3 separate regions of the Homo sapiens genome follow, and all the other regions are linked to region 2. The links are contacts of gene promoters, found by promoter capture Hi-C in blood cells and fetal thymus (Javierre and others, 2016). All regions are on one chromosome and are shown on one strand. Each heading gives the region's core, a stretch centred on a gene start or on the middle of the fragment in contact. The rest is flanking DNA. Distances are from core to core; before and after follow the strand shown. Region 1 has its middle 4.1 kb from the start of ST8SIA1. Region 2 holds the start of LDHB (lactate dehydrogenase B). Region 3 has its middle 65 kb from the start of ST8SIA1.

Evidence for each region. Contacts are between HindIII fragments. The CHiCAGO score rates a contact against its expected background, and 5 or more counts as called.
Region 1: a contact is called between a fragment that was not itself captured here and the fragment with the promoter of LDHB in region 2, in 1 of 17 cell types (activated CD4 T cells). The highest score is 6.2, in activated CD4 T cells.
Region 3: a fragment that was not itself captured here is called in contact with the fragment with the promoter of LDHB in region 2 in 5 of 17 cell types (total CD4 T cells, naive CD4 T cells, total CD8 T cells and 2 more); the score reaches 9.0 in total CD4 T cells.

What each region holds. Positions count from the first base shown.
Region 1 is chr12:22,337,483-22,340,182 of GRCh38, reverse strand. No RefSeq gene overlaps it. Among named protein-coding and RNA genes, the nearest start is that of ST8SIA1, 4.1 kb to the right of the region's middle. The HindIII fragment of the contact is 6,355 bases long and covers 1-2,700 here.
Region 2 is chr12:21,656,395-21,659,094 of GRCh38, reverse strand. It overlaps LDHB (lactate dehydrogenase B), which reads left to right and starts at 1,253. Exons shown (of 8, transcript NM_002300.8): 1 at 1,253-1,344. RefSeq lists enhancers at 772-951, 826-1,354, 1,332-1,581, 1,612-1,701. The HindIII fragment of the contact is 8,571 bases long and covers 1-2,700 here.
Region 3 is chr12:22,398,045-22,400,744 of GRCh38, reverse strand. No RefSeq gene overlaps it. Among named protein-coding and RNA genes, the nearest start is that of ST8SIA1, 65 kb to the right of the region's middle. The HindIII fragment of the contact is 233 bases long and covers 1,150-1,382 here.

The DNA of each region.
Region 1 (2,700 bases), core at 151-2,650, 680 kb before region 2:
TGTCTGCAGACAGCTTGTGTTAATCAGCTCAATAGACCCTCTGCCTTATTGCAAGGGCAGAGGGCCAGTGTGACAGCTTTCTGTATCCTGAGCTCTTACCCAGTGTGTTGGAAAAATCGGATCACATGTGGGCTGGAAGGATCAGTGCAAAGTTTTATTGAGTGGTGGGGGTGGCTTTCAGCAAGATGGATGGGGAGCTGGAAGAGGGGGATGGAATGGAAATGTGGTCTTCCTCAGGAGTTGGGCTGCCCAGCTGCCAGACTCTTCTCTAACCGCCCCCGGCCGAACTCCTCTTGGCATCCAGATGTCCCTGCTCTTCTTTCTTTCTCTGCCATGTCGTTCTGCCGTTGCTGGTCTGCCGGTCTGCTGGTGTCTGCTGGTGTGTTCTTCTGCTTCGCTCAACCTTCAGCTGCTTGCGTCTGTGCCTGCTAAGGCCTTAGGTTTATATGGGAACAGGATGGGGGGCATGGTAGGCCAGAGCAGTCTTGGAAAATGCAACATTTGGGCACGAAAACAGGAGTGCCTGTTCTCACTTAGGTCTGTGGGCACAGGCCTGAGGGTGGAGCCATCTCCAGGGACACTGTCCTTTTTTACCCAATACTTCCCTGGCCCCCATCCTGTGTGAGTGAGATTCTTGGAGGTAAAACTATAAAAAGTGTGGAGGCCCACCTGACTATGATCTCCAGGACTTCCTGATTGTGATCCCCAGGAGTTTCTCCCTTTCACTCTAGTCCACACTTAGCCTCCAGCAATTCCACTATGCCAATTCCAAATGACCACTGAAGCGTTCCTACCAGTTTATGGCTTCAACATCTTCTGCTCCAGATAAACATACCTCAACTCTGGCTCTGGATTTGTCCATTTCTCCATTTTGGAGGAGAGGGGAATTGCCTTGTAACTTTAGTTCTTTATTGAGCCCAAGTAAAGTTGTTGATTTTCAGCTTTCTTGCTTTAAATAAATCTAATCCCAACATAATTTCCAATCTTTTGCATGCATTTTCTTCTTTAAACTTCCATTATTTTCTGTTTCTTATTTTCTAAAATTTCAGTGTTATATACCTTTGGTGTAGGTTTAAAAAATTCATTTTATTGAGTCCTTAATGAACTCTTAAATTTTAGGATTCTTTTTAGTATGTCTTTGAAAATCTGCTTTTTGTTTCTTGTTGTTTGGATATTTATTTTTTCTTTGAGCCTATAATTTATTATCTTGTTTACCCTCTTTTATATTTTTGGCCTACTTTCTGGGATATTTCTTTAACTTTGTAATTCAACTTTTCTATGAATTCTGTTATATATTTTGTTACCATATTTTAAGTTTCAAAGGACTTTATTTTTAGTCATCTGAACATTCCTTTTGTTCTTGCTTCATTGGATTGTGTCTCAGTCCATGTGAGAATATTAATTATGGTTTTTATTGAAGATTTCTTATGTTTCCTGCATTATCATTTTTTCCTAGAGTTGATTTCTGTGTGTGATCATTTGCTTGTTTTGTCTCTACTTTCATGTTGGAGACTCTCTTCAAATGTCTAGGGATCCTTGACTCTCCCCTCATATTTAAGAAGGAGGCCTGAAAAAGAGGCCACGAAACTCGGTGTAGGCAGAGCTTATACACTAATGGGTCTCACTAGAGGGTGTTAGACAGGGATTTGGCCATTCGATTGGAGATCTCTTAAACATATCAGAATCTGTAGGTCTTCTCTTTTGTGCTGGTCAGTCTCTAGAGATTTAACCTCCCGTTTTAAGCCAGTTGGGGAATAAGATCTAGATGTTTCAACTGCTCCTTTTTAAAGATTTCCAACAAACCTCTTAGTTTGTTTCATTCATTACCTCCATCTCCAGAGGTCCTAGGTGCCTTCGTTTCTGAGCCTTTCAAGAACTCTCTAGTATAAATTAGCTTGATTCTTGTTGGCTTCTCTCTATGCTCCTCAATTTTCTGTGCACGTGGACACACACACACACACACACACACACACACACACACACACACACACACACACAGAGTTACTTGAAGGCCCAGACCTTTCTCTCTCCTGATAAGTCAGTTAACACTTGTTTAATTGCTTTCCTGCTTGTGAACTTTTTGACATCCTTTGTCTGCTTTTGTATTCCTTCGTTTTTTCTTGTTCTTCTGAATCTTTTTCACTTTTACTCCTTTACTCTTCTTTTAGTGAGGTCACAATAGGGAGTGGAGATAAATAAATGCATTTATTCAGATAAACTATATTTATAACCTTTCTCAATCTACAACCTTATTTACCTTGGTGTTGTAATTGGTTGTGAAACAGGCATCATTTTATGCTTTTGACTGGCCATTCCAAGCCATTCTGACAAGAAGAACTTGAGCAGAGACTGAAGATTGGCCTTTTAAAATTTTATCTCAAATCACTGACAATTCTGTTTAATCTGGACTCCTGCCTTTACATTTTTCTACTACACATTTATAGAGTTTTAAAAGTTGTTTAGTCCCTGAGGAAATCCTGTTTGTGTCCGCTAAGCATACTCAGATGCAGAAGTATAAAAGAATACCTAAGCTACTTACTATAAGTCATACAAACAAGATGGCTAAATATCAATTAAAATATTTTATTTAAAACATTAAAACTTGGGGGTTCATACTTTTCCTTAAACAGTGATGCCTTGGCAATAGACTGAATAAGTTTGAGGATCTCATTATAAAACCAAGCAACAATTATTTGTTGA
Region 2 (2,700 bases), core at 4-2,503:
TCTCCAATGGACTAGGAACACCTCAAAGGGCATAATCTTATATTTATGTTTTTTACCAATGCTTGGCACTGAGAATAAACTGAAGCAATAATTATAGAATTAGTGGTCATATACAAGAAATATGCATTTACAAAAAAAAACACTTCACATACAGGAAGTTTGTGAGATGGCTATATTTGAAAGCATTTTAATTATAAGAAAACAGAACTGAAGCCAGACTCTTCAGAATTCCTCCAATTTATCATTCATTCATTTATTCATCAATGCTATATTTAGGTACCAAGCACTGGCTGAGTGTTGAAGACAGAATGAATGACAACATCCAGCTTTGGAGTCGATTAGGGACTAAAAAAGAAAGTGCATCTCACTTAGTGGTCCCACATTTCCCCTAGAGGGCAAAGCCTGACCTTGAGACCAGGTGGAATTGTAGGGGAACTTCAGATGGCAGGGACAAAGCCTCATTGGTCTTGTCAGGCAACGAGTAAGCAATCATTGCGTGTTTGTTGAAACAGGTTGAAAAAAATAGTCATTTTCATCAAATGAACTTTAAAACGGAGATGATCTAAATTCAGATGTATTTTTTTAAGTCCTTTAAAGTTTAACTGAAATGCAACATAGAAATTTATTTCTGGCCGGGCGCGGTGGCTCAGGCCTGTAATCCCAGCACTTTGGGAGGCCGAGGCGGGCGGATCACGAGGTCAGGAGATCGAGACCATCCTGGCTAACACGGTGAAACCCCCCTCTCTACTAAAAATACAAAAAATTAGCCGGGCGAGGTGGCGGGCGCCTGTAGTCCCAGCTACTCGGGAGGCTGAGGCAGGAGAATGTCGTGAGCCCGGGAGGCGGAGCTTGCAGTGAGCCGAGATCGCGCCACTGCACTCCAGCCTGGGCGACAGAGTGAGACTCCGTCTCAAAATAAAAAAAAGAAGGAAAGAAATTTATTTCTATTTGTACTAAATCTAATAGAACAAGAGCGTTAAAGTCCAGAAGAGTCGGGGATGGGCAAGTTTTATAAATAACTTGGCCTCCGCATTGAAGAGCCTGCGAGATGTGAGACCAGCTGAGAGCGGAAGCCTCTGGAAGGAGACCTCCTCATCTGGAGGGTGGGGGAGGGAGTGTGCATACTTGAGCCCTTGTCCTTGAAGGGGATTGAGCGAGCCGAGGGGAGGGGTAGGCGGTACTCGGATTTCCAATCACAATGGAGAAACCTAAGAGGCTGCGGTGGTTGTGGGGCCCCGCCCCCTCCTCCCTCCTTGCAGAGCCGGCGCCGGAGGAGACGCACGCAGCTGACTTTGTCTTCTCCGCACGACTGTTACAGAGGTCTCCAGAGCCTTCTCTCTCCTGGTAGGTTTCGGCTCAGGACCCTGAATCCTGGCCCACAGGCAAGCCTGATGGGACGTGCGGGGTAGTACTTGTATGGGGAGACGCGGGAAGGAGGAAGAAGCACATCTGTCCTCCGCGGCCTTTAGCTCTGAGCATCCGGCCGCGGGCCCTGACTTTGCCGCTCAGTTTGGGGCGCAGGGGGGGCCGTGCCCTGGCGGAGGAGCAGAAGGCAGAGGGTAGCAGCTGCGGCTCAGCGGAGAGACTTGTTGCATTTGCAGCTAAAACCAGGCCCTACTTGTCCTTGGTGGGTTCATGGCGGCCACATCACCCCCACGGCCTGCTGGCGGGAGTCGGGACACGTGCCCGAGTAGCTGGGGGAGGGGGACGGAACCAGGTGGCCTATGAAGGCTGGACGATCTTTACCTCGAATATTTGAATATATTGCCACGGTAATAGAGAAATGCCCTTGCACTCGCTGGGATGAGGAGAAAGGCACCTAGATGACCAGCACGTTTGGCGCTGCACTTATTTTTACCCGGCTCTGACGGTCTTTCCAGGAGCCATGCGCCAGTTCTTTCCTGCAGGGCCTCTTTTCTGGATGCTTAGGGGCTTCGTTTACTTTACCAGCCTTGGGTGCTCCGAGTAAGGAAGTCCTAGACTTGTCCCCACAGACCTTACTCGGGGAGATCTCTAGCTTCTGCATGCCCTCGTGATCTGCTGTTCTTTGCTGCCGGTGCCCTGAGGAAAAGATGGTTTGTGCGCACCGCGAGCAGTACAAGCTGCAGTAAGGGCCTGGGGAATGGGGGGAGGGGAGGAATTCAAAAGCAAAACCTGAATTTTTAAAAGATTACGGTGAGAAAGATTCTGCAAAGAAGATCTTTGTTCCTGAAATTAAGGCGCTCCTTTATTTCTAATGATTTATATCCACAGCAGTGAGGAGACATAAGGGACCAAGACTCAGAGATTTTTACCGTTTGTCGTTCTTGTTCCTTACAGCCTGCACTCTGATGTTGGCACAGGCCTGTATATCATGCAGACCATTTTCTTCTCATTTCTTAAAACTCTTTTTAAGGAAAAATTGAAGAAAAGCACTTTCTCCAGAAATATCTGAAAGAAAATCTGGTTCGAGCCTTTAAATTGTACTTCCTGAAGTTTTCTAAATTAAAAGGTCTATCAGAACAACGAATCTGTATTTATATAGCCACTGTTTCTTCATTTTCATTTTCCACTGCTTCCTGGGCCCCCTGTATACCAAAACGGTCGTAAACAGACCATCTAACAACAATAAACTTAAGTGCAGAACAACTATTCATGTGTGTCGTCCTTCAAAAAGAGATGCAGCATTCTTTCTTCTGAGCCTGTTTAAAATGCAGGCCA
Region 3 (2,700 bases), core at 17-2,516, 740 kb before region 2:
TAGGAGAACCACTAGTCTCTTCAAAGCTGTCAGACAGAGACATTTAAGCCTGCAGAAGTTTCTGCTGCCTTTTGTTCCGCTATGCCCTGCCCCCAGAGGTGGTGTGTACAGAGGCAGGCAGGCCTCCTGGAGCTGTGGTGGGCTCCACCCAGTTCGAGCTTCCCAGCTGCTTTGTTTACCTACTCAAGCCTCAGCAATGGTGGACGCCCATCCCCCAGCCTTGCTGCCACCTTGCAGTTCGATCTTAGACTGCTGTGCTAGCAGTGAGCGAGGCTCTGTGGGCGTGGGACCCTCCCAGCCAGCCAGGTGCGGGATATAATCTCCTGGTGTGCCATTTGCTAAGACCATTGGAAAAGCACAGTATTAGAGTGGGAGTGTCCCGATTTTCCAGGTACCATCTGTCACAGCTTCCCTTGGCCAGGAAAAGGAATTCCCTGACCCCTTGCACTTCCTGGGTGAGGCGATGCCCGCCCTGCTTTGGCTTACACTCCGTGGGCTGCATCCATTGTCCTGCACCCACTGTTTGACAAGCCCCAGTGAGATGAACCCGGTACCTCAGTTGAAAAGGCAGAAATCACCCATCTTCTGCATCGCTCACACTGGGAGCTATAGACTGGAGTTGTTTCTATTTGGCCATCTTGGAACCTCTCCCTTCTAATTCTTAAAAGCAGAAGATAAAATTTCCACATGAAAGATGTTCTCCCCTTATAAGAAGGGAAGTAACATTCTTGTCAAGAATGCAAAGTTGAGGCAAAGGGAAATCTGTACAAACAAAAATTTGTTTCTCAGTCTCAGCTGAAAACTCTAAGAGGATAGAAATAAAATTTTGCCTACTCTGCAGCTTCTTATTACAGACACTAAAGATATTTGAGTTTGTAAGTAAACGTGCTACATTTAAAAATTGTACGATGCTTTCTCATAGTTATGAAATGGCATACTTCCTCATTTTTGCTGAAAATTAAGTTTACTAAGAGCTAAGAATTAATTAATATATGTAATTAAGGACACTAGAAATAATAAGAAAAACGAATTAATATAAATTAGACAAGGAAAGTAAGGTTTATTTTTGGTAAGATAAGTTATAAAGTATAAGGATGTGTTTTTTGCTGAGAAAAAGAAAATTATTGTTCTATTTTAGAGTTTAAAGCTTGTTTCAAATGAAAAAGAGGGAAATGAAGGACAAAAACTAAATGGACATAGAAATTGGGGTGGGGGGAGAGAGAGAAAGAGAAAGAGATAATATGAAGAGAGATAATCTTATGTAGTTAGGCTGGCTGAAATGAAATGAATTTATTATAATGGTTTAAAAATGAGGCTTAGTATCAAAAGTATGTTGAGACAAAATTAGATTTTGGTCTTATTTTTGTTAAAAGAACAAAGCTTTCTTAGGTTATTGGTGTATTCCTGGTAAGTGACTATGAAAGGTTTCTCTTTACCTCCTAAGTGATTTGCCTAAAAACAAAAGGATTTTGGTCTTATCAAAATACTTTCCTTTGCTTCATGTTGTCTTGATCATGTCTGACAACTTAAGAAAACAGACTTCTCTGTTAAAAGAGCTGAGGTTTTTGTCAACTATATAACTTTCTGTATTTGTCTTTGAAATCATTAATTCTTATTTTGGTTACAGGGATAACTAAGTATTGTTTCAAGTGTCCCATTTAATCAAGTGTTTAAAATCTTTTGACATTTTTGACTATTTCACCTTCCCCAAACCAAATCTTAAATACAATCTGCTTGACCTCAACCTAATTTTGAGATTTTCCAGAGGGCTGCTGGAGAAACACAAAGGATTAATATCTAGTCTTATCAGAAAGAGATGTTAAAATAATTAGGTTTATTTGGTATGTTAAATTGTATGGGAAGCATTGTTAAATAAGAAGTGATGATAAACCTTCTTTAGATTATATTTATGTGGATATAGGTATTCCAAAAATTATATAGAGTTGTTAGAAATTTTTTAATTTTCTTATTGTCTGTATAATCAGTTATAATCCTGGTTATTACCTTAAAATGTTATATGTCACAGAAATAACCATATTTCCTCATCAATTTCATTTATATAAATGCTTATCATCATCTTTAACTGTGGTCATTTTAAGTATTTTGTCATTCAAAAATAGTTATTTTTTTACTCTGATGGTTTTTCTAGAAGTTTTTGCAAGTAGCTATGTTACAAAATTGCAAAATTCTGACAGGTTTCTGATAGCTTTAAAATCATACTACTAGGGTTGTTCCTAGCCTTGCAGGTCCACAAGCTGGGGCTGGATGACTTGATATGCATTTCAGAGAAATCACCACAGCAGCTCATATGTTGACAACCTTTTTGCCTGCTGTGTGGGCCATGCAGAAAGTTAACCAGAATGCCCAATGGCATCACCAGAGACATTCAAACTGCAAACCAGGAAAATCTATTATATTGAAACTGCCGTATTAGAAAAAAAATGCTGTTTACACATTAATAAGCCAGGAATTGTAGCCCAAAATCTTAAAGATCTAAAAGATCAGATCCAGATATTCACCAGATTGGGGAAGGACAATCAACTGATCTAATTTGTTAAATCTTGGCTATTGGGGACCTTGGATTTGGGATATTTTTAAAGGCTTGCCATTATCCTCCTATGATTTATAGTCATAATATCCTTCTGTGCTGTCATCTTTCAAGAGTTTTAAATGCTTGTCAGCAGCCACTAACTCAGCAGA